Regions from separate parts of the Homo sapiens genome. Here all the other regions are linked to region 4. Evidence: promoter capture Hi-C in human tissues and cell types (Jung and others, 2019). All regions are on one chromosome and are shown on one strand. Each heading gives the region's core, a stretch centred on a gene start or on the middle of the fragment in contact. The rest is flanking DNA. Distances are from core to core; before and after follow the strand shown. Region 1 overlaps RCOR1 (REST corepressor 1). Region 2 has its middle 21 kb from the start of RCOR1. Region 3 overlaps RCOR1 (REST corepressor 1). Region 4 holds the start of EIF5 (eukaryotic translation initiation factor 5). Region 5 overlaps CINP (cyclin dependent kinase 2 interacting protein). Region 6 holds the start of TRAF3 (TNF receptor associated factor 3). Region 7 overlaps LOC105370680 (a long non-coding RNA gene).

Region 1 (2,854 bases), core at 195-2,694, 720 kb after region 4:
CCATTGCACTCCAGCCTGAGCGACAAGAGCGAAACTCCATCTCAAAAAAAAAAAAAAAAAAGAATTATGCAGGCCAAGGTGGCTCATGCCTATAACCCCAGCACTGCAGGAGGCCACGATGGGTGGATTGCTTGAGCCCAGGGGTTCGAGACCAGCTGGGACAACATGGTGAAACCCCGTCTCTACTAAAAAATATTAAAAAAAAAAATTTAGCCAGGCATGACGACATACACCTGTAGTTCCAGCTACTTGGGAGGCTGAAGCAGAAGAATCACTTGAGCCCAGGAGGAAGAGGTTGCAGTGAGCCAAGATCGTTAACACTGCACTCCAGGCTGGGTGAGAATAAGACTCTGTCTCAAAAAAAGGTGGGGGCGGGGGGGCCGGGCACTATGGCTCACGCCTGTAATCCCAGCACTTTGGGAGGCCAAGGCGGGCACATCACGAGGTCAAGAGATCGAGACCATCCTGGCCAACATGGTGAAACCCCGTCTCTACTAAAAATACAAAAAATTAGCTGGGCATGGTGGCACGTGCCTGTACTCCCAGCTACTCGGGAGGCTGAGGCAGGAGAATGGTATGAACCCGGGAGGTGGAGCTTGCAGTGAGCCGAGATCACGCCACTGCACTCCAGCCTGGGCGACAGAGCGAGACTCCGTCTCAAAAAAAAAAAAAAATTATTCAGAAATTATTTTTATTTTTGTTTTTTATATGCTTTTCCTGAGCTGTATATCAAAAAATTTTATACACCAAACTGGATAAAAGTTTAGCTATTCTAGTTTATAGAGTTCGGCCCTGTAGCCTCACCCCCAACCTCTCAGCTCCACTAAGAATGCGGTACAAAAATGGCAATACCATGGAAACTGACCTGTTGCCAAGCAAGCAGAGAACTAAGCAACAACTCAAAATGATAGTTAATCATCTGACATATAAAATCTTAATTCAGTCTGGGAGTTATCAATATCTGACATTTAAAAAGAGCCAGAAGGGCTGGGTGCAGTGGCTCATGCTTGTAATCCCAGCACTTTGGGAGGCCGAGGCGGGCGGATCACGAGGTCAAGAGATCGAGACCATGCTGGCTAACGTGGTGAAACCCCGTCTCTACTAAAAATGCAAAAAATTAGCCGGGCATGGTGGCGGGTGCCTGTAGTCCCAGCTACTCGGGGGGCTGAGGCAGGAGAATGGAGTGAATCCAGGAAGCGGAGCTTGCAGTGAGCCGAGATGGCGCCACTGGACTCCAGCCTAGGTGACAAAGCGAGACTCCGTCTCAAAAAAAAAAAAAAAAAAGAGCCAGATGTTTAAAAATCTTAAAAACATGGCTGGGTGCAGTGGCTCACGCCTATAATCCCAGCACGTTGGGAGGCCAAGGAGGGTAGATCACCTGAGGTTGGGAACTCAAGACCAGCCTGACCAACATGGAGAAACCCCGTCTCTACCAAAAATACAAAATCAGCCGGGTGTAGTGGCACATGCCTGTAATCCCAGCTGCTTGGGAAGCTGAGGCAGGCGAATCCCTTAAACCTGGGAGGCAGAGGTTGCAGTGAGCCTAGATCATTGCACCACTGCACTCCAGCCTGGGCAACAACAGCGAAACTCTGTCTCAAAAAAAAAAAAAAAAAAAAAAAAGAATAGTTAATTCAAAAAACAACCTATCTCAGCCAGGCGCGGTGGTTCACTCCTGTAATCCCAGCACTTTGTGAGGCCAAGGTAGAGGACTGCTTGAGGCCAGGAGTTCAAGATCAGCCTGGGCAACATAGTTATACTCCACCTCTTTAAAAAAAAAAAAAAGGATGGCGGGGCGCGGTGGCTCATGCCTGTAATCCCAGCACTTTGGGAGGCCGAGGCGGGCGGATCACGAGGTCAGGAGATCGAGACCATGGTGAAACCCCGTCTCTACTAAAAATACAAAAAATTAGCCGGGCGCAGTGGCGGGCGCCTGTAGTCCCAGCTACTCGGGAGGCTGAGGCAGGAGAATGGCGTGAACCCGGAAGGCGGAGCTTGCAGTGAGCAGAGATCGCGCCACAGCACTCCCGCCTGGGCGACAGAACGAGACTCCGTCTCAAAAAAAAAAAAAAATGATAAATAAATATGTTTAAAAAAGAAAAAAAAAGGCCAGGTGCGATGGCTCACACCTGTAATTCCAAAACTTTGGGAGGCTGAGAATGGCGGACCACCTGAGGTCATGAGTTTGATACCAGCCAGGCCAACACGGTGAAACCCCAACTCTACCAAAAATACAAAACTTAGCCAGGCGTGGTGGCGCACGCCTGTAGTCCCAGCTACTCGGGAGGCTGAGGCACAAGAACTGCTTGAACCCGGGAGGCGAAGGTTGCAATGAGCCGAGATTGTGCCACTGCATTCCAGCGTGGGCGACAGAGCAAGACTCCATCTCAAAAAAACAAAACAAAACAAAAAAAGCGAGACTCGCACCATCTCAAAAAACAAAACAAACAACAACAACAACCAAAAAAACCACCTATACTCCTTTGGAAAATTCTGGACTAGAATCATCAATACGGTAGTCAGATTTGTTTTTTCTTTTTTTTTTTTTTTGCTAAGAGATACTGTCTCCTGTCTCTCAGGCTAAAATGCAGTGGTGTGATCATACCTCATAGCAGCCTCAAACCCATGGGTTCAAGCAATCCTCCCATCTCAACCTCCCAAGTAGCCAGGACTACAGGTGCACGTAGAGACAAGGTCTTGCTATGTTGCCCAAGCTGATCTCTAGCTCCTGGCATCAAGCAATCCTCCTACCTCAGTCTCCCAAAGTGCTGGGATTACAAGTGTGAGCCACTGCACAGGGTAACCAGCAAGCAGATTTCTAAGAGCAAATGAGATCAGATGGAGTACTTCATCA
Region 2 (2,787 bases), core at 31-2,530, 760 kb after region 4:
TCCGTCTCATAAATAAATAAATAAATAAATAAATAATAAAACATATGCCCAGCCAGCTGTGGTGGCTGACACCTGTAATCCTAGCACTTTGGGAGGCCAAGATGGGAGGTTATCTTGAGCTCAGGAGTTCAAGACCAGCCTGGGTGACATGGCAAGACCCCCATCTCTACAAAAAACACAAAAATTCCCTGGGCATGGTTGCTGTGCCTGTAGTCCAGCTACTCAGATGGCTGAGGTGGGAGGAATGCTTGAGCCTGGGAGGCAGGGCTGCAGTGAGCTGTGACCGTGTCCCCGCACTACAGCCTGGGTGACAGAGTGAGACTGTGTCTCAAAAAAAAAAAAAAAAAAAAAGTCTGGGCACAGTGGTTCACTCCTCTCCTGTAATCCTAGCACTTTGGGAGGTTGAGGTGAGATCACTTGAGCCCAGGAGTTCCAGACCAGCAGGAGGCTGAGGTGGGAGGATTGTCTGAATCAAGGAAGCTGAGGCTGTAGCTTGCCATGATCACACCACTGCACTCCAGCCTCGGTAACAGTGAGACCTTGTCTCAAAACAAACAGACAAAAACAAACTGGCCAGGCACAGTGGCTCACGCCTGTAATCCCAGCACTTTGGGAGACCGAGGGGTGGATCACAAGGTCAGGAGATCGAGACCATCCTGGCTAACATGGTGAAGCCCCGTCTCTACTAAAAATACAAAAAACAAGGCCGAGCACAGTGGCTCACGCCTGTAATCCCAGCACTTTGGGAGGCTGAGGCGGGCAGATCACGAGGTCAGGAGTTCGAGACCAGCCTGGCCAATGCGGTGAAACCCCGTCTCTACTAAAAAATACAAAAATTATCTGGGCATGGTGGTGGGTGCCTATAATCCCAGCTACTCAGGAGGCTGAGGCAGGAGAATCACTTGAAACCAGAAGGTAGAGGTTGCAGCGAGCTGAGATCACGCCACTGCACTGTAACCTAGGAGCAAAAGCGAAACTCTCTCAAAAAAAAAAATACAAAAAACATTAGCCGGGCATGGTGGCACGCGCCCGCCCAGCTACTCGGGAGGCTGAGGAGGGGGAATCACTTGAACCCGGGAGGTGGAGGTTGCAGTGAGCTGAGATGACGCCACTGTACTCCAGCCTGGGCGGCAGAGTGAGACCCCGTCTCAAAAATAAATAAATAAATAAATAAATAAATAAATAAATAAAACAAGAAAACACATGCCCACAATTCACACAAAAATATATACACAAATGTTCATAGCTGCATTCATAACAGCCAAAAAGTAGAAACAACTTATGATCCATCAGCTGATGAATGATTAAACAAAATGTGGTATATGGATACAATTGGAACACTATTCAGCTATGAAAAGTAATGAAGGGCAATATGGATAAATCTTGAAAACATTATGCTAAAAAATATAATTGCTAAGCTGGCCTCCATTAAAAATAACCCCCGCAAATCAATCAATCAATCAATAAAAACTGCTCTGCAAAAGATAATATCAAGATGGCAGAGAAGGAAACATCAGGAAATGGTCTTCCTGCCTAAACAATTACACTGGCAGAATCTGCCTGATGTGACTATTTTGAAACTCTGGAGTCTACTGAAGGCTTGTAACTTCCAGGGGAAGGCTTGGATGGTAAAGTGCAGTTAATTTTGCTCAATTTCAGCTCTTAGCAGTTTGGCAGCTACCCATTTCCCAGCCCAGCCTGCAAAGCAGGCAGTAGATGCAGGTGGTCCTGGACCGGCTTGCACACAGCTTGCAGGAGCCAGAGTGGGCAAATGCAGCCTGTCCTCCAGATAACAGGCATCTGTGCTGTGATAACTGACTGCTGCCTGTGGGGTTAGGATATATATTTGTGCACAGATCCTGGTTGATAACTCCTAAAGACCTTGTTATAGTCTCTTTTCAAATTTTTTTGAGACAGAGTCTGGCTCTGTCCAACAGGCTGGAGTGCAGTCGCAGAATGGGTCACTGCAATCTCTGCCTCCCAGGCTCAAGCGATTGATCCTCCCACCTCAGCCTCCTGAGTAGCTGAAACTACAGGTACATGCCACCACACCTGGCTACTGTTTGTATTTTTTGTAGCTACAGGGTCTCACTTTATTGCCCAGGCTGGTCTTGAATTCCGGGATTCCGGGATTCAAGTGATCCACCTGACTCGTTGTCTCAAAGCGTTGGGATTACAGGCCGTGAGCTACTGAGACTGGCCTTTTATTTATTTATTTATTTATTTATTTATTTATTTATTTATTTTAAATTTGAGATGAGATCTCCCTATCTTGCCTAGGCTGGTCTCGAACTGCTGGGCTGAGGGATTCTCCCTCAGTGCTAGGGTTACAAGCATGAGACACTGCAAAGTCCAGTCTTTTCATACAACGCTGGGAGTGTTCAGCCTCAAGGACAGACCTCTGACCTTCTCCTTCCCTCCTTTCATCTGCCCCAAGGCAGGACTTTAATCCTCCCCACCTTTCTCATTGTGAGGCTTTGGACCCTCCCCAGAGAGGCCCTATACCCTGGGGGAAGGAATGCTGAACTCTGAAGCTTCCATATGCTAACACTTTGGGAGGCCAGGTGGGGCAGATCACTTGAGGCCAGGAGCCTGGCTAACATACCAAAACCTTGTCTCTACTAAAAATACAAAAATAAGGCGGGGCATGATGGCTCACGCTTGTAATCCCAGCACTTTGGGAGGCCAAGGTGGGCACGTCACGAGGTCAAGAGATCGAAACCATCCTGGCCAAAATGGTGAAACCCCGTCTCTACTAAAAATACAAAAATTAGCTGGGCATGGTGG
Region 3 (2,700 bases), core at 8-2,507, 650 kb after region 4:
TGTAGATATACTGAGATGAAACAAAGTCCCAGATGTACTTATGAGCAGACTGATAACAGTTCACATTTTGTGGAAAACAATTATATATTATGCATTATGTACTATTTGAATTTTCTAAAATAGCATTTATTTTTATAATTACAACATAACTTTATAAGCTTTCAGTAACCCTAAGAGGCAGAACTCTGAACAGCCACTTTGAAAAGAAGAGGAAAAAAAAAACACACACACACACACAAGAAAAGCCAGGGATCTCCAGACATCCTATACACAGTTTTTTAGTATCTGCTAGAAATATGTCCTAAATCACTTATTTCTACTTAATGTCAGAATAAATGCTGGACAACCAAGACTTCCATATTCTTCCAAAACTGAGACACCTAAATTTTCAATAGAGTAATTGTTAAACATACTGACATATCCATGTAATAAAGTATTACACCTAGTTATTTAAAACCTTTATAAGCAGTTTTAACAACGTGGAAACTGCTTAGGTCCGATGCTCAGGAAGACAATACACACATACACACACACAGATAATCTATCATCTCACTTATATAAATACATACAAAAAAAATTGGAAGAAATACCCCAAAATGTTTAACGATTATCACCTCTGGGTGATGGAATAATAGGTGAATTTTTTTTATTCTTTATACTTTTATCTATGAACTTTCAACAATATGTAAATATTACTTTTAGGTAAGTGTTTGTTTTGTTTTTTTCCCAGAGTAGAAATCATTGCTCTTTCCTGATAGAAAATAATGCATTTCTACAAAGCCGTCCTCATCCTGCCTTCTCGCTAGTGGACTTTGTTCACTCTCAGTGCTCCGTGTTTACTCGGTTAATAAATGGAAAGACAGATGTATTCTATAAAGTCAATCCTTTTTTATGCCATCTAAGGAAAACCCCTAGGTCTCATGCACCCCAAGGCCCTTCCACCCTAACAACTCGATTTCCCTGAAAGGTATGTCTGGAAGCCCTTCCGTGACAAAGTAAATAAATCTTGATATTTCTCTTCAATTTTCATAACGTGAACACTACCGATGAGCCCTTGCTTAGTTCATCTGTCTTCCACTGCCTGACACTGACAGGTCATTTCCACGGGTTTGCTATGCAGCCGCTTGAGGTTCAGACTCCGCAGCGGGTTGGGGGCAGGGGTGCTGGGGCCTCCCGTGCGAGTTGGATTCTGGAGGAAGACAAGGAACCTGTTCCTAGCGCTCAGCCGGGTCCTGCGATGGCTGTGGCTGTGACTATGGCCAGGAAAGAGGCAGAGAGGCGGGATACGGTCAGAGCTGCGGGGGCTGGGGCGGAGAGGGCTGCTCCCAGGTCACGGCGCACCCAGGCGCCTCCCCCAGCTGCCAGCCCCACCTCGGCTGCTGCTCCACAGCAGGAGGGTGCAGCCCCAGCCCCCGCAGAGCTAGGGACTGGTGTATGGGGAGCAGGCCGGGTGCCCCGGGATGAACTTGAGGCCCAGCACTGCCAGCTTCCAGCTGTGGGAAGGGCTGGTGGCAAGAGGGACCCGGAAGCAGCACTGGGCCCGAGGGCGGAGATCAAGGGACATCTCCCTAAGCGTGGCCGAGCGCACTGGCTGCCATCTCCAGGTCAGCGGGGGCCACATTCGCGCACGGAACATCAGCGCGCCCCCAGAGGAGAGCTTGGCCCAAAGCATCCTCCGATTCCCAAGAGAAGTTGCCCACATTGCTTGGGACCCCCGGGGAAGCCCCGCTGGTGGAACAGTAGGGGTCAGCACCCCAGGCTGACCAGGGTCTGGGATCGGGGGGACCTGCGCCCAGGTGGCCTCCACGCTGGCGCTGCTCTGGCTTCTTTTCCGTGCTCCACCTCTCCAATTCTGAAACCAAACCTGGACTCGTGGCTCGGGAGTCTGTTTTTCTGGCCGGTTCTTTTCTGACAGTAATTCCAGGACAAGGGTCCGTTTCAAAGGCCTCAGTAAGAATCGTGTATTGATATCTGTCAAATTTGGTCCTCCTATGCCTCTGGCCTGGCTCAAGTGTGTCTCAGCCACAAGCCGAGCTCGCTGTCCACTGGGAGCCTCAGTGGACAGGTTAGTTTTTTTAAAGTTTAAAGTTTTAACCAACTTTAAACTTAAAACGATTGTAATCAGGGCTTACAATAAAACTGTAAATTTATTTTATAGGCAACACCACTGTTTAAAAATCAATTAACTTTACATATTCTGCCCTTTTCTTCTAGGTCTATGAAAAATAAGATAACATTAAAATTAAATTCTGACTCCAAAGACTCCAATAAGCAATACAATAGGAAAAGTGACTAATACAACTTTAAACTGTAATAACAGAAAGATAGTGGCTAACAGGCTAAATGAACACAGCCTGAGAAATAAGTGAGATTATGACCCAGGAGTGAACTACTTGGGGTTCCGCCACTCACTATCTGTGCTACTTTTACAACCCTCTGACTCTTTGAACTATGGGATGCCATCTGTAAAACAGAGAAAAAATCTTCCTCCTGGGTTACTGTGAACACTGAATGATACAGGAGTATGAAAAACATTTTAGTACTGTGCTGGCATAAAGGTTCAAAAAATGCTCAGTATTCTTCATATTCAGTTCTGAGTACAATTTAAGATGGACATTGTGGCCAACTGGAACACACTTAGAAGGACAACAGGAGATGAAAAGAGATCCCCAAAAAAACCATCTGAAAAGGCACCTGAAG
Region 4 (2,700 bases), core at 163-2,662:
AAGAAAAAGGGAAAGAACACACAAAAATCCCCCCAGGTTTAACATCATCGCTGGATGGAAACGCCTCCTTTTTACATCCTAGTTATGCTTCTGCTTAACTCCACCTTAAAAAGCATCTGAGATCACATGCAAACAGCCATTCTCATGTAACACAGTACAATCTGCGGGAACATAAAAAGGCCTCCATTTCGACTAAGCTGTGACTGGTAGGGAAATGCCTGACAAGAAAACACAAGCTGTGCTGCCTCAGCCGCCGTGAGATTCCATCAGACCGAGGGCAATCAGCAGGTTTGCCTCTGCGGCCATCCTGGAAGTGCTGAAGAACGAACCCGAGCCCTCTCCGCCGCCCACCCCGCCTGGATAAGCAAACTTCTCAGGCACACCCCCGTTCGTCTTCATTTTTAAGGGCAACCTAGGGAACTGTTCTCTACAACTAATCGTTGCTTCGGCAACCATGGCTTACTTCAAAGCAGCACTTCCTTAAACGCAGCGCTCGCCCACAATTTGCCATTAAGCAAGAGAGCGCGAGCGAACGCCAGGCTCGCCCCGGCCTCCCTTTTCCTCGCTATTCAAATACTCGGTTAACCTTCGCCCTGGTCCCCATGGCTACCGCGCTCCGAGGCGTTTCCGCGGGGGCTGGCGAACCGGGCAGCTCCGCGAAGGAGGGGGGCGCGCGACCGGGGCGTCTGGCCCCATCCCCAGCGCGTCCCCCGAGAGCCGGCGGCCCCGGAGGGTGCACAGCCGGGAAGCGACACACGGCCGAGGGGTGCCGGGATCGGGCCGCCCCCGCCCCAGAGCGCGCGATGACTCACAAATGCAGCAGCTGAAGCCTGAGTCAGCCCGAGCGGCGGGCACGCGCGACGCGCTCCCGCCATGCCGGGGAGGGGGCGAGGCCGGGCCGGGGAGCGCGCGGGGAGGGGGCGGCCGGCGCCCGGGCCCGCGCCCGCCCGCCGTCCGCCCAAACTGCGCCACACGCCGCGGCGGGGTCACGCGGCGGCCGCCGCCATCTTGTGCGGCCGCCATCTCCTGGCCCGCCGCGCCCGCGACTCACCGTTTTCGTCAAATAAAGACATAAACCCAACGCTGCTCGCCCGGGACTGGGATGAAGTGAGGCGCGATATAAACCCGAGTCCGAGTCCGAGGAGGCGGAGGCGAAGCGCAGCGAGGAGCGGCCGGGCCAGGTGCCGCCGCCGAGCAGCGGGGAGGGGCTGTCCCAGCGACGTCCGCGGTCCACACCCGTCAGCGCCGGAGCTGGGCGACCTGGCGCGGAGAGACGGCGCCGTGAGCCGTGGGCGGTCGGGGAGTGCACCTTCCCCGCCAGCCAGCGGCCCGAGGGGTCGAGGGGGCGGGAAGCACCGGGCAGGGGGCCGCCCCTTCACCGGACTCACCTCTGGAATGTTCTCGCTCTGACTGAACAACGCCGCCGCCGCGCTCAAGCTACCCTCGGCCCCAGCGTCCGCCCCCCGCGTCAGGCCTCACTGCCCATTGGCTGGAGGCCTGCCACAGCTCGCTCGTCATTGGTTCGCTTGCGACGTCAATCGCATCTTTCCGCGCCCCTTCTGCTTCCTGAGGCTCAACTCGCGGCCTCGGCCCGCCTCCAGCCCCGGTCTCGCTTCCTTCCTCTCCCCTCCCCCCGCCTTTCCCAGAGGTCTTCGCGGCGCAGCCCTTGGGTCTCGCGAGACCCGGAGTGGCCCTGGTGGCGGGGCCGGGGTACCGGGGGCCGTTCTTTGTCGGTTTGGGCCTTGAGGGGGAGATGGTGGTTGGTCCCCTCCCTCGCCGGGTCTGGGACAGGCCGCGGCGTCATGGCGACTCCCGGGACGCAGGAGCCATCGTCCTCGAAACTGCTTTCGAGGCCGTGTTTTTGCGGCTGCCACCTTCGGGGAGAGGAACCCGACCGCGTTCTCCCCGCAGCGGGCGCTCATCTCCCTTTCCCGTTCTCCCGGGACGCCCGACTCCGGGCCTCGAGGAATGAGTTGTTTTTCCACCTTAAGCCCCAGGCCTGGGTCTTTCATCCCAGGGACGTCTTCTGTTTCGGACTCGGGGTGGATTGGCCGCTGGCGGAACGAGTCCGTGACTCGCCAGTGACCGCCCAGGGCGGTCGCGAGGCCGCGCCGCCTCGGTGTCGGCCCGCAACCCAGCCTGCGCGCTTAGCTCAGCGCGTCGCCTCCCGTTTTCGGAAGAGGAGGCCCTTAATTGGTTTGGAATCCTGGGGCCTCCTGAAGGCGCTTCGTGGTGGGTTCCCACCTTCTGGTGAAGGCCTCCCTGCTCTCCCAGGGTTGAAAAGCGCTATCCTTCGTGCTTCTCTTGTCACCTTTCTCCTAGTGGGCATCACGTCGAGTCCACCCCCTCTAGTTTATGACTTGTGAATTCTTTGATAAGCAAATCGTAGCCCAGAGCAGGCATTTATAATGAGATTCCAATGTATTCCGTTGAAAATTACTATTATTTAGGCCGGTCGCGGTGGCTCACGTCTGTAATCCCAGCACTTTGGGAGGCTGAGGTGGGCGGATCACCTGAGGTCGGGAATTTGAGACCAGCCTGGCCAATATGGTGGAACCCTGTCTCTACTAAAAATACAAAAAATTAGCTGGGCGTGGTGGCTCGCTTGTAATCCCAGCTACTCGGGAGGCTGAGGCAGGAGAATCCTTGAACCCGGGAGGCACAGGTTACAGTGAGCCGAGATCACACCACTGCACTCCA
Region 5 (2,700 bases), core at 140-2,639, 980 kb after region 4:
GTTCCAGGGATAGTTTGCCCATCCCTGATACAGCACGTAAGAGACTAAAGTGTTTGTTTAATGAACTAATAACTAAATTTCAATACCTACCATACTGGCCACCAGATGTGAAGATAACACCACCTTATTTCTTTGCTAGGCACAGGAAATCAGGTTTTACACATATTTGAACTTGGATAACTGAAGCTTACCCATAAACATTTAAGATCTTTATATTTTCACCTTTTTGTTTGTTTGGAGACAAGGTCTCGCTGTGGAATGCAGTAGTATGATCACAGCTCACTGCAGCCTTTACTTCCTGGGCTTAAGTGATCTTCTTGCCTCAGCCTCCCGAGTAGCTGGGACTACAAGCATGAACCATCATGCCCGGCTAATTTTTAAAATTCGTTTGTACAGACGGGGTTCTCATGTTGGCCAGGCTGGTCTCGAACTCCTGACATGAAGTGATCTTCCCACCTTGGCCTCCCAAAGTGCTGGGATCACAGGTGTGAGCCCTGGCGCCCTGCCTTAGCTTTTCCGTCATGTCTTGTTTTGGCTTCAGGATCCTGTATGACATCGAGTCCCCTTGTTTCCTCAGGCTCCTTTTGGCCGTGACAGTTTCTCAGACTTCCCTGTTTTTGATGACTTTGACAATGTTGAGGGATACTGGTCAGGTATTTTGTAGAACATCATGAGATTTATCTGATGTTTTTCTCCTAATTAGACTGAGGTTACGGGTTTTGTTCAGAGGAGGACCACAGAAGTAAAGTGCCATTTCTATCATGTCATATCAAGGGCACGTACTGGATATACTGTCATCAGGACTTTTCTTTGGGTCCCACCTATTGCCCGGGCTGGTCTCAAACTCCTGGGCTCAAGCAGTGCTCCCACCTCAGCCTCCCAAAGTGCTGGGATTCCAGGCGTGAGCCACTGTGCACAGCCAGGACTTTCCACTGCTGAAGTTGACCTTGATCACCTGGCTGGGCAGTGTTTCCAGGTTCCTCTGCTGTGACGTTGCTCTTTCTCCTCCTCCCACGCTGTGCTCTTTGGCAGGAAGTCACTATGCATAGCCCACACCTGGGGGTAGGGACGTATTCACCACCTGCTTGAGGGTGCAGTATCTACATAAATTATTTGGAATTATTCTGCGTGGGAGATTTGTTCCCTCCCTCCCATTTGTTAATTTTTTTTTTTTTTGAGATGGAGTTTCACTCTTGTTGCCCAGGCTGGAGTGCAGTGGGGTGATCTCTGCCCACTGCAACCTCTGCCTCCTGGGTTCAAGTGATTCTCCTGTCTCAGCTTCCCAAGTAGCTGGGATTACAGGTGCCTGCCACCACACCCAGCTAATTGTTGTATTTTTATTTGTTTTTTTTTAATTTTTGTTTTGGCCAGGCGCAGTGGCTCATGCCTGTAATCCCAGCACTCTAGGAGGCCGAGGCAGGTGGATCACCTGAGGTCAAGAGTTTGAGACCAGCATGGCCAACATAGTGAAACCCCATCTCTACTAAAAATACAAAAAATTAGCTGGGGGTGGTGGCAGGTGCCTGCAATCCCAGCTACTTGGGAGGCTGAGGCGGGAGAATCACTTTCGGAGGTTGCAGTTAGCCGAGATCAAGCCACTGCACTCCAGTCTGGGCCACAGAGTGAGACTCCGTGTCAAAAAAAAGAAAAAAAGAAAAAGAAAAGTGGTTTGGGAATAAGTTCTCATTCTATGTTCAAAACCAAAAGTTGATTTTATAGGGTATTATTATTTTTCCTATTTTCCTCTATCCGTTATAGAGAATGGTTTCCAGACCTGGTCTGTGTCTTTCATAACTTTGACCTTCTGGGGGTTTCATGCACCGTTCTTCCTAAGCTGGGCTAACATTTCACTGTGGTCTGTGTTTGCTGTGGGAAGAAGCCACCGATGTTGAAATGTAAGGGCCTGCTGTTTATGCACTGTTCATTCAGGGCTGCACGTGCCTATGTGACTTGAATTCTTTATTGATGGCTGAGCTGCAGGATTGAGCATGACTTCTTGCCTGGGGTCAAGGCTCCAGAATTTTCCTTAGTCTCCTGTTATCAGCTTTTCTTAGAATCAGGTGGCACCAGGGAGCTGCTGCAGGACTCACAGGAAAGAGCAGAGGATTGGGTGTTAAAACTTGGTGTCGGCTGGGCGCGGTGGCTCACGCCTGGAATCCCAACACTTTGGGAGGCTGAGGTGGGCGGATCACAAGGTCAGGAGATCGAGACCATCCTGGCTAACACAGTGAAACCCCAGCTCTGCTAAAAGTACCAAAAAAATTAGCCAGGCACAGTGGCGGGCGCCTGTAGTCCCAGCTACTTGGGAGGCTGAGGCAGGAGAATGGCATGAACCCGGGAGGCGGAGGTTGCAGTGAGCGGAGATCGCGCCACTGCACTCCAGCCTGGGTGACAAAGCGAGACTCTGTCTCAAAAAAAACAAAAACAAAAACAAAAACAAAAAAACTTGGTGTCAGAAGGCATGGTATCGAGTTCTGGCCTCATCCTTCCTCAGCTCAACCTTAAGCAATTTCCCAGCTGTGAAACGGAAATGACAAGTCCTGCCTCTTGGGGTTGGGCCAAATAAAATATCAAACCTTAAAAGATTTGGGAAACTACTTAAGTAAAGTCCTTTAAAAATTAACGTTAGCTGAATTTAGTGCTTGCCACTTCCAATGTAATTGGAGGGTGGTTGGAAGGACCAAGTAAAGGAATTAAGAT
Region 6 (2,700 bases), core at 146-2,645, 560 kb after region 4:
GACGAACTGATGGTCCACTTGGCCATTCCCTACAGTAAGAATTTTATAGACAAATACAGGGTAACAGCAAACAACATTTCCAAACGCTCCGGCAGTGTGTAGTCGCAGCAAATGCTAGGAAAAAAAATAAATAATGGCTCCTCTTCAGTTGTATGCCGTGAATGTAAATTAAGAAGCCGCTACAACGCTCGACATAACCTTTCTGACGCCACAAAAATGAATGAATTATATCCATACACACACACAGGCACACACACCACGCACCACGCATCACATGTCATTCTGAAAACTGATTCTGAGCTTAATTCGAAAAACGTGAAATACAACTGGTCCCGTCAACAGCTCGTAATCTGAAGGTTTCTTGCATTTCCAAGCACGTCCATAACACCTCATCCGTTTCCAGTTTGTTACTGTTTCCAACCGAAGGGAGAGAATTTTCCACACAGAATTATCTCCTCGGGTCCAAATACTAGACCGAAGTCCCCACACGGGGCTGGCTGGCGGCGTGGAACCGGCCAGCCCGCCGAGAGCCGCCTGGCGCCCGCGGGGAAGACGCAGAGCCCGCGGCCAGGAGCCGCCCGGTGCCCCGGGAGTCGCCGGCCCTCGGCGGCCGCGCGAGGGGGATTCGCGCCCTCTGCCCATACCCGGACCCCCGCGCCGCCCGCCAAGCGGTCGGAGGCGCCTCTGAGGCGGAATGACTCAGGACCAACTTTCCAATAACGCCCGGGCCCCCCCGGCCGGCCCGGGCAGCGCGCTCGGCCACGCAGCCCCTGAGCCGCCCGTCCCCCCGCGTGAAACCCGCGGCCCCGCGGGGTGCCGGGTCCTCAACGCCAGCGGGGGTCACGGCCGTAGCGAGGCCTGCGCGCCCCGTTTCCTGAAAAGGTGCGGGCGCCCCGGCCCCCTCGGGCCCCGAGCCCGGCCTCCGGGACAAAGTTTGCCGAAGTTGAGGCGTCCGGAGGCGGGAGGCAGCCCGGCTGGGGCGCGGGGCCAGGCTGAAGCCGCGCCCCGCCGTCGCCGCTGGGACGGGCCGGGCCTGCGCCGCGCCGGGCCCGCGCCGGGCAGCCCCGAGGCCCCCGGGCCCCGCCGCCCAGGGCGCGGGATGGAGGCGACGGGGATGGAGGCGCCCGGCCGCGCGCCGGAGGCCCGCCCGCCCGCCGCGGCCCCTTACCTCGCGGTCCGTCGCCGCTCGGCCGGCTCAGGGGCGCCGGGCGCGTCCTCCGCCGCGGTCCGCAGCGTTCTGCTCCCCGGGCTGCCCCATGGCGGGGGGCGGGGAAGAGCCGGCGGCCGCCGCGGCTGCCGCCGGCTGGAAAGTCCCGGCTGGGCTGCAACCCCGGCTCGCGCACGCGGCGGCCGCGCCGCGCTCCCTCGCTCCCTCGCTCCCTCACGCAGCCCCGCGCAGGCACTTCCTCTCGCGCGCTGGAAATCCCCGGCGCGCCCGCCGCCCCGCCCCCGCCGCCCGCGCGCGTGGGAGCGGCAGGAGCCCGCGAGCGCCGCCGGCCCCACGCGCCCGCCGGCCCCCCGCGCGCGCCCGCGACCCGTTGCTAAGGGCCCTAGCGCCCGGCGGCCGCCCGCCCGGCCTTAGCAACGGCGGCGCCGCGGCGCGGGGCGGGGACGGCCCCGGGCGCCCCCCGCCTCCCTCCCGTCCCCGCCGCGCGCCCCGCGGGCCTCCTCGCTCTGCGCCGCCCCCGCCGCGCCCCCGCCGCCGCGCGTCCCCGCGTCCCCGCCTTTCCGGGTCAAAAAGCCACGCAGGCCGCGTGGGGGCCGAGAGGTGCTGGCGCCGCTCCTCCCCGCGGCCACCTCGCCCGCACCCCCCACGCCAGCATAGCATACGCAGCCCCCGTGCGTGCACGCCCGTGTGCCCATGGCCACACGCGACCCCTACGCACACGCACGGGTCCGATATGCGGCCCCCCGCACTGTCGCGGACGCATACACGACGGTCACATTCCCCTCAAGCGGACACGCACACACACGCTCACCAACACCGTGCGCACGCGTACCAGGCCACGCACCCTCGCGCACACGCAGGTGGGGCTGAGGGTGACTCAGGCCGTGGAGCCCCTTTTCGCATGCAGAGGGCAGGGCTCCACATTAGTTTGGTGGCACTTTCCTTTCTCCCTCCCTTGGACCCTCCCACGCCCCCGGAGTGGTGTCTTGCTCACGGGTGGACAGGGTAGCCAGTTTGCCACGTGCCCCCAGCGTCCTCGGCGGTCCTGGCTGCCCCTGCGCCCCCTGCACCCTCCACCAGGCCGCTGGGGCCTGCGCATTTCTCCCGAGGCCTCTGCCTTCTGCCCCAAAGGCATCAGTGGTGTGTCAGTGATTCACCTAGGCCCACCAAGGCAGCACCCAGCCTGGCTGGGCCTGGCGAGGTGGGAAGCGAAGGGAGGGCTTCTGGGAGGCTCTGGGCCAGCTGAGGGGTGAGGCCTTCGCTGGAGTTTGCAAGTCAGTGGTGAGGGGACAGAAAGGACTTTGCATTTTTCACTTCTCAAGAAGGCTTATAAAGAGCCCTACCCCAGAGCTGAGACCAGTGTGAGTAGCCAAGGCCAGTCTGCCTTCTTGTATTGCTCCAGTGACTCATGTGAGTGGAGGCAGGAAGTCCAGCATCTCCTCCTACAGCTTCACCCATGGAACGTTCCAGAACCCCAGATAGTCCGACCTGGCTGCTGGAAGTCTATCTGGACATCAGAGACATTGGACCAT
Region 7 (2,771 bases), core at 174-2,673, 810 kb after region 4:
TCCCAAAGTGCTGGGATTCCAGGTGTGAGCCACCCACACCTGGCCTTCTCTAAGAGTTTTATTGATGTAGGCCATGAGTGGTGGCTCACACCTGTAATCCCAGCACTTTGGGAGGCTGAGGCAGGTGGGTCACTTGAGACAAGCCTGGGCAGATGGCGAGAATAATTATTGCTGAATAATTTCCATTGTATGGAAATCCCACACTTTATACATCTATTCACCAGTTAATGGATATGCCTTTCCATTTTGAGGGTATTATGAATAATGCTGCTATGGATGTTGACTAAAGAAATAAAATGCAGCTGGGCATGGTGGCTCACACCTGTAATCCCAGAACGTTGGGAGGCCGAGGTGGGCGAATCACGAGGTCAGGAGTTTGAGTCCAGCCTGGCCAATATGGTGAAACCCCGTCTCCACTTAAAAAAAAAAAAAAGGGCTGGGCGCAGTGGCTCACGCCTGTAATCCCAGCACTTTGGGAGGCCAAGATGGGCAGATCATGAGGTCAGGAGATCAAGACCATCCTGGCTAACACGGTGAAACCCTGTCTCTACTAAAAATACAAAAAATTACCCGGGCATGGTGGTGGACACCTGAGGCTGAGGCAGGAGAATGGCGTGAACCTGGGAGGTGGAGCTTGCAGTGAACCGAGATCACGCCACTGCACTCCAACCTGGGTGACAGAGGGAGACTCCATCTCAAAAAATAAAAACAAAAATAAACAAAAAAGCCAGGCGTGGTGGCGCACACCTGTAGTACCAGCTACTTGGGAGGCTGAGGCAGAAGAATGGCTTGAACCTGGGAGGTGGAGGTTGCGGTGAGCCAAGATCACACCACTGCACTCCAGCCTGGGTGACAGAGCGAGACTCCGTCTCAAAAAAAAAAAAAGAAAAAAAAAAAAAAGGCTGAGTGCAGTGGCTCATGCCTGTAATCCATCCCAGCACTTTGGGAGGCTGAGGCAGGTGGATCACCTGAGGTCAGGGGTTCGAGATCAGCCTGGCCAACATGGTGAAATCCCGTCTTTACTAAAAATAGAAAAATTAGCTGGATGCAGTGGTGAACGCCTGTAATCCCAGCTACTCAGGAGGCTGAGGCTGGAGAATAGCTTAAACCTGGCAGGCAGAGGTTGCAGTGAGCCGAGATCGCACCACTGCACTCCAGACCAGGCAACAGAGTGAGACTCCATCTCAAAAAAAAAAAAAAAAAAAAGAAAGAAAGAAAGAAAGAAAGCTTTTAAAGATATGAGTTTGGGCCGGGCGTGGTGGCTCACGCCTGTAATCCCAGCACTTTGGGAGGCCGAGGCAGGCGGATCACGAAGTCAGGAGATCGAGACCATCCTGGCTAACATGGTGAAACCCCGTCTCTACTAAAAATACAAAAATTAGCCGGGTGTGGTGGCAGGTACCTGTAGTCCCAGCTACTCAGGAGGCTGAGGCAGGAGAATGGCATGAACCCGGGAGGTGGAGATTGCAGTGAGCCAAGATAGCGCCACTGCACTCCAGCCTGGGCAACAGAGCAAGATTCCGTCTCAAAAAAAAAAAAAAAAAAAAGATATGAGTTTGATGGCTGGGCACCTTGGCTCACGCCTGTAATCCCAGCACTTTGGAAGGCCGAGGTGGGCGGATCACCTGAGGTCGGGAGTTCAAGACCAGCCTGACCAACATGGAGAAACCCCATCTCTACTAAAAATACAAAAATCAGCCGGGTGTGGTTTCGCATGCCTGTAATCACAACTACTCAAGAGGCTGAGGCGGGAGAATCGCTTGAACCCAGGAGGCAGAGGTTGTGGTGAGTCGAGATTGTGCCATTGTACTCCAGCCTGGGCAACAAGAGTGAAACTCCGTCTCAAAAAACAAAAAAGAGTGAGTTTGATTCAGAAGCCTCCTGAGGACATTACCCAGAGGCTGATAGCCCAGAACATTTCCTTGGTGAGGTTTTCTTAGATTGCTCCAAAATAGTTTCAGCTCACAGTTATACATGAATTGTGGGAGTTCAATACGTGCAAAATCACATCAGACTTGCTCAGAAGTTACACTGAGGCAGAGTTACATCAAGGTTTGGGTAAGAATACATCTGGTTATAGATCACAGAAGCATCATCACTAACCAGATGTTTTTTTGTTTTTTTTTTTGAGACAGAGTCTCGCTCTGTCGCCCAGGCTGGAGTGCAGTGGCGCGATCTCGGCTCACTGCAAGCTCCGCCTCCCAGGTTCACGCCATTCTCCTGCCTCAGCCTCTCGAGTAGCTGGGACTACAGGCGCCCGCCACCACGCCCGGCTACTTTTTTTGTATTTTTAGTAGAGACGGGGTTTCACCATGTTAGCCAGGATGGTCTGGATCTCCTGGCCTCGTGATCCGCCTGCCTCGGCCTCCCAAAGTGCTGGGATTACAGGCGTGAGCCACCACGCCCGGCCCTAACCAGATGTAATGAGGAGGGAAAGGCAAGGCTAGGGTCATGGATCTTTTAGAGAATGTAGCAACTCAAGCCAGAGGCGTGGGGAGGGGGACTGTGTGCTCTGTCGCGTTTTGTCTTCAAAGCAACTTTCTGGAGAGCTGCAGGTGGTCACAGAGGTAGGGCTTTGTGAAACTGTGCTGCAAACAGAAAGGAGCATGCTTGGCTTCCTAGGTGTGCTACTTTATCTCACAGAACGTTCACATACAGATCTTTGTGTTAGAGATGTTTTCAGGCCAGGCATGGTGGCTCACGCTTGTAATCCCAGCATTTTGGGAGGCTGAGGCGGGAGGATTGCTTGAACCCAGTTCGACTCAGCCTGG

The links. The method cuts DNA at HindIII sites, captures the fragments that hold promoters and counts their contacts. A contact is called where the count stands out against the background at its distance.
Region 1: a contact is called between a fragment that was not itself captured here and the fragment with the promoter of EIF5 in region 4, in 1 of the 25 tissues and cell types used here (hippocampus).
Region 2: a contact is called between a fragment that was not itself captured here and the fragment with the promoter of EIF5 in region 4, in 1 of the 25 tissues and cell types used here (hippocampus).
Region 3: a contact is called between a fragment that was not itself captured here and the fragment with the promoter of EIF5 in region 4, in 1 of the 25 tissues and cell types used here (lymphoblastoid cells).
Region 5: a contact is called between a fragment that was not itself captured here and the fragment with the promoter of EIF5 in region 4, in 2 of the 25 tissues and cell types used here (dorsolateral prefrontal cortex and hippocampus).
Region 6: the fragment with the promoter of TRAF3 here is called in contact with the fragment with the promoter of EIF5 in region 4 in 1 of the 25 tissues and cell types used here (thymus).
Region 7: a fragment that was not itself captured here is called in contact with the fragment with the promoter of EIF5 in region 4 in 1 of the 25 tissues and cell types used here (hippocampus).

What each region holds. Positions count from the first base shown.
Region 1 is chr14:102,612,655-102,615,508 of GRCh38, reverse strand. The region is part of intron 2 of RCOR1 (REST corepressor 1); the gene reads right to left. Among named protein-coding and RNA genes, the nearest start is that of RCOR1, 21 kb to the right of the region's middle. The HindIII fragment of the contact is 9,224 bases long and covers 1-2,854 here.
Region 2 is chr14:102,570,231-102,573,017 of GRCh38, reverse strand. No RefSeq gene overlaps it. Among named protein-coding and RNA genes, the nearest start is that of RCOR1, 21 kb to the left of the region's middle. RefSeq lists an enhancer at 2,463-2,787. The HindIII fragment of the contact is 6,435 bases long and covers 1-2,787 here.
Region 3 is chr14:102,682,601-102,685,300 of GRCh38, reverse strand. All of the region lies in intron 3 of RCOR1 (REST corepressor 1), which reads right to left. Among named protein-coding and RNA genes, the nearest start is that of RCOR1, 91 kb to the right of the region's middle. The HindIII fragment of the contact is 3,535 bases long and covers 1-2,700 here.
Region 4 is chr14:103,332,949-103,335,648 of GRCh38, reverse strand. It overlaps EIF5 (eukaryotic translation initiation factor 5), which reads right to left and starts at 1,412. Exons shown (of 12, transcript NM_001969.5): 1 at 1,389-1,412; 2 at 1,052-1,260. It overlaps EIF5-DT (EIF5 divergent transcript), which reads left to right and starts at 989. Exons shown (of 1, transcript NR_158216.2): 1 at 989-2,700. RefSeq lists silencers at 557-796, 907-956, 1,097-1,516 and an enhancer at 1,837-1,956. The HindIII fragment of the contact is 9,721 bases long and covers 1-2,700 here.
Region 5 is chr14:102,351,614-102,354,313 of GRCh38, reverse strand. The region is part of intron 3 of CINP (cyclin dependent kinase 2 interacting protein); the gene reads left to right. Among named protein-coding and RNA genes, the nearest start is that of CINP, 9.9 kb to the left of the region's middle. The HindIII fragment of the contact is 9,147 bases long and covers 1-2,700 here.
Region 6 is chr14:102,776,144-102,778,843 of GRCh38, reverse strand. TRAF3 (TNF receptor associated factor 3) reads right to left here and starts at 1,395. Exons shown (of 12, transcript NM_145725.3): 1 at 1,169-1,395. RefSeq lists silencers at 553-612, 853-902, 1,113-1,722, 1,813-1,872 and an enhancer at 2,583-2,700. The HindIII fragment of the contact is 12,756 bases long and covers 1-2,700 here.
Region 7 is chr14:102,519,882-102,522,652 of GRCh38, reverse strand. All of the region lies in intron 1 of LOC105370680 (a long non-coding RNA gene), which reads right to left. Among named protein-coding and RNA genes, the nearest start is that of ANKRD9, 11 kb to the right of the region's middle. The HindIII fragment of the contact is 6,441 bases long and covers 1-2,771 here.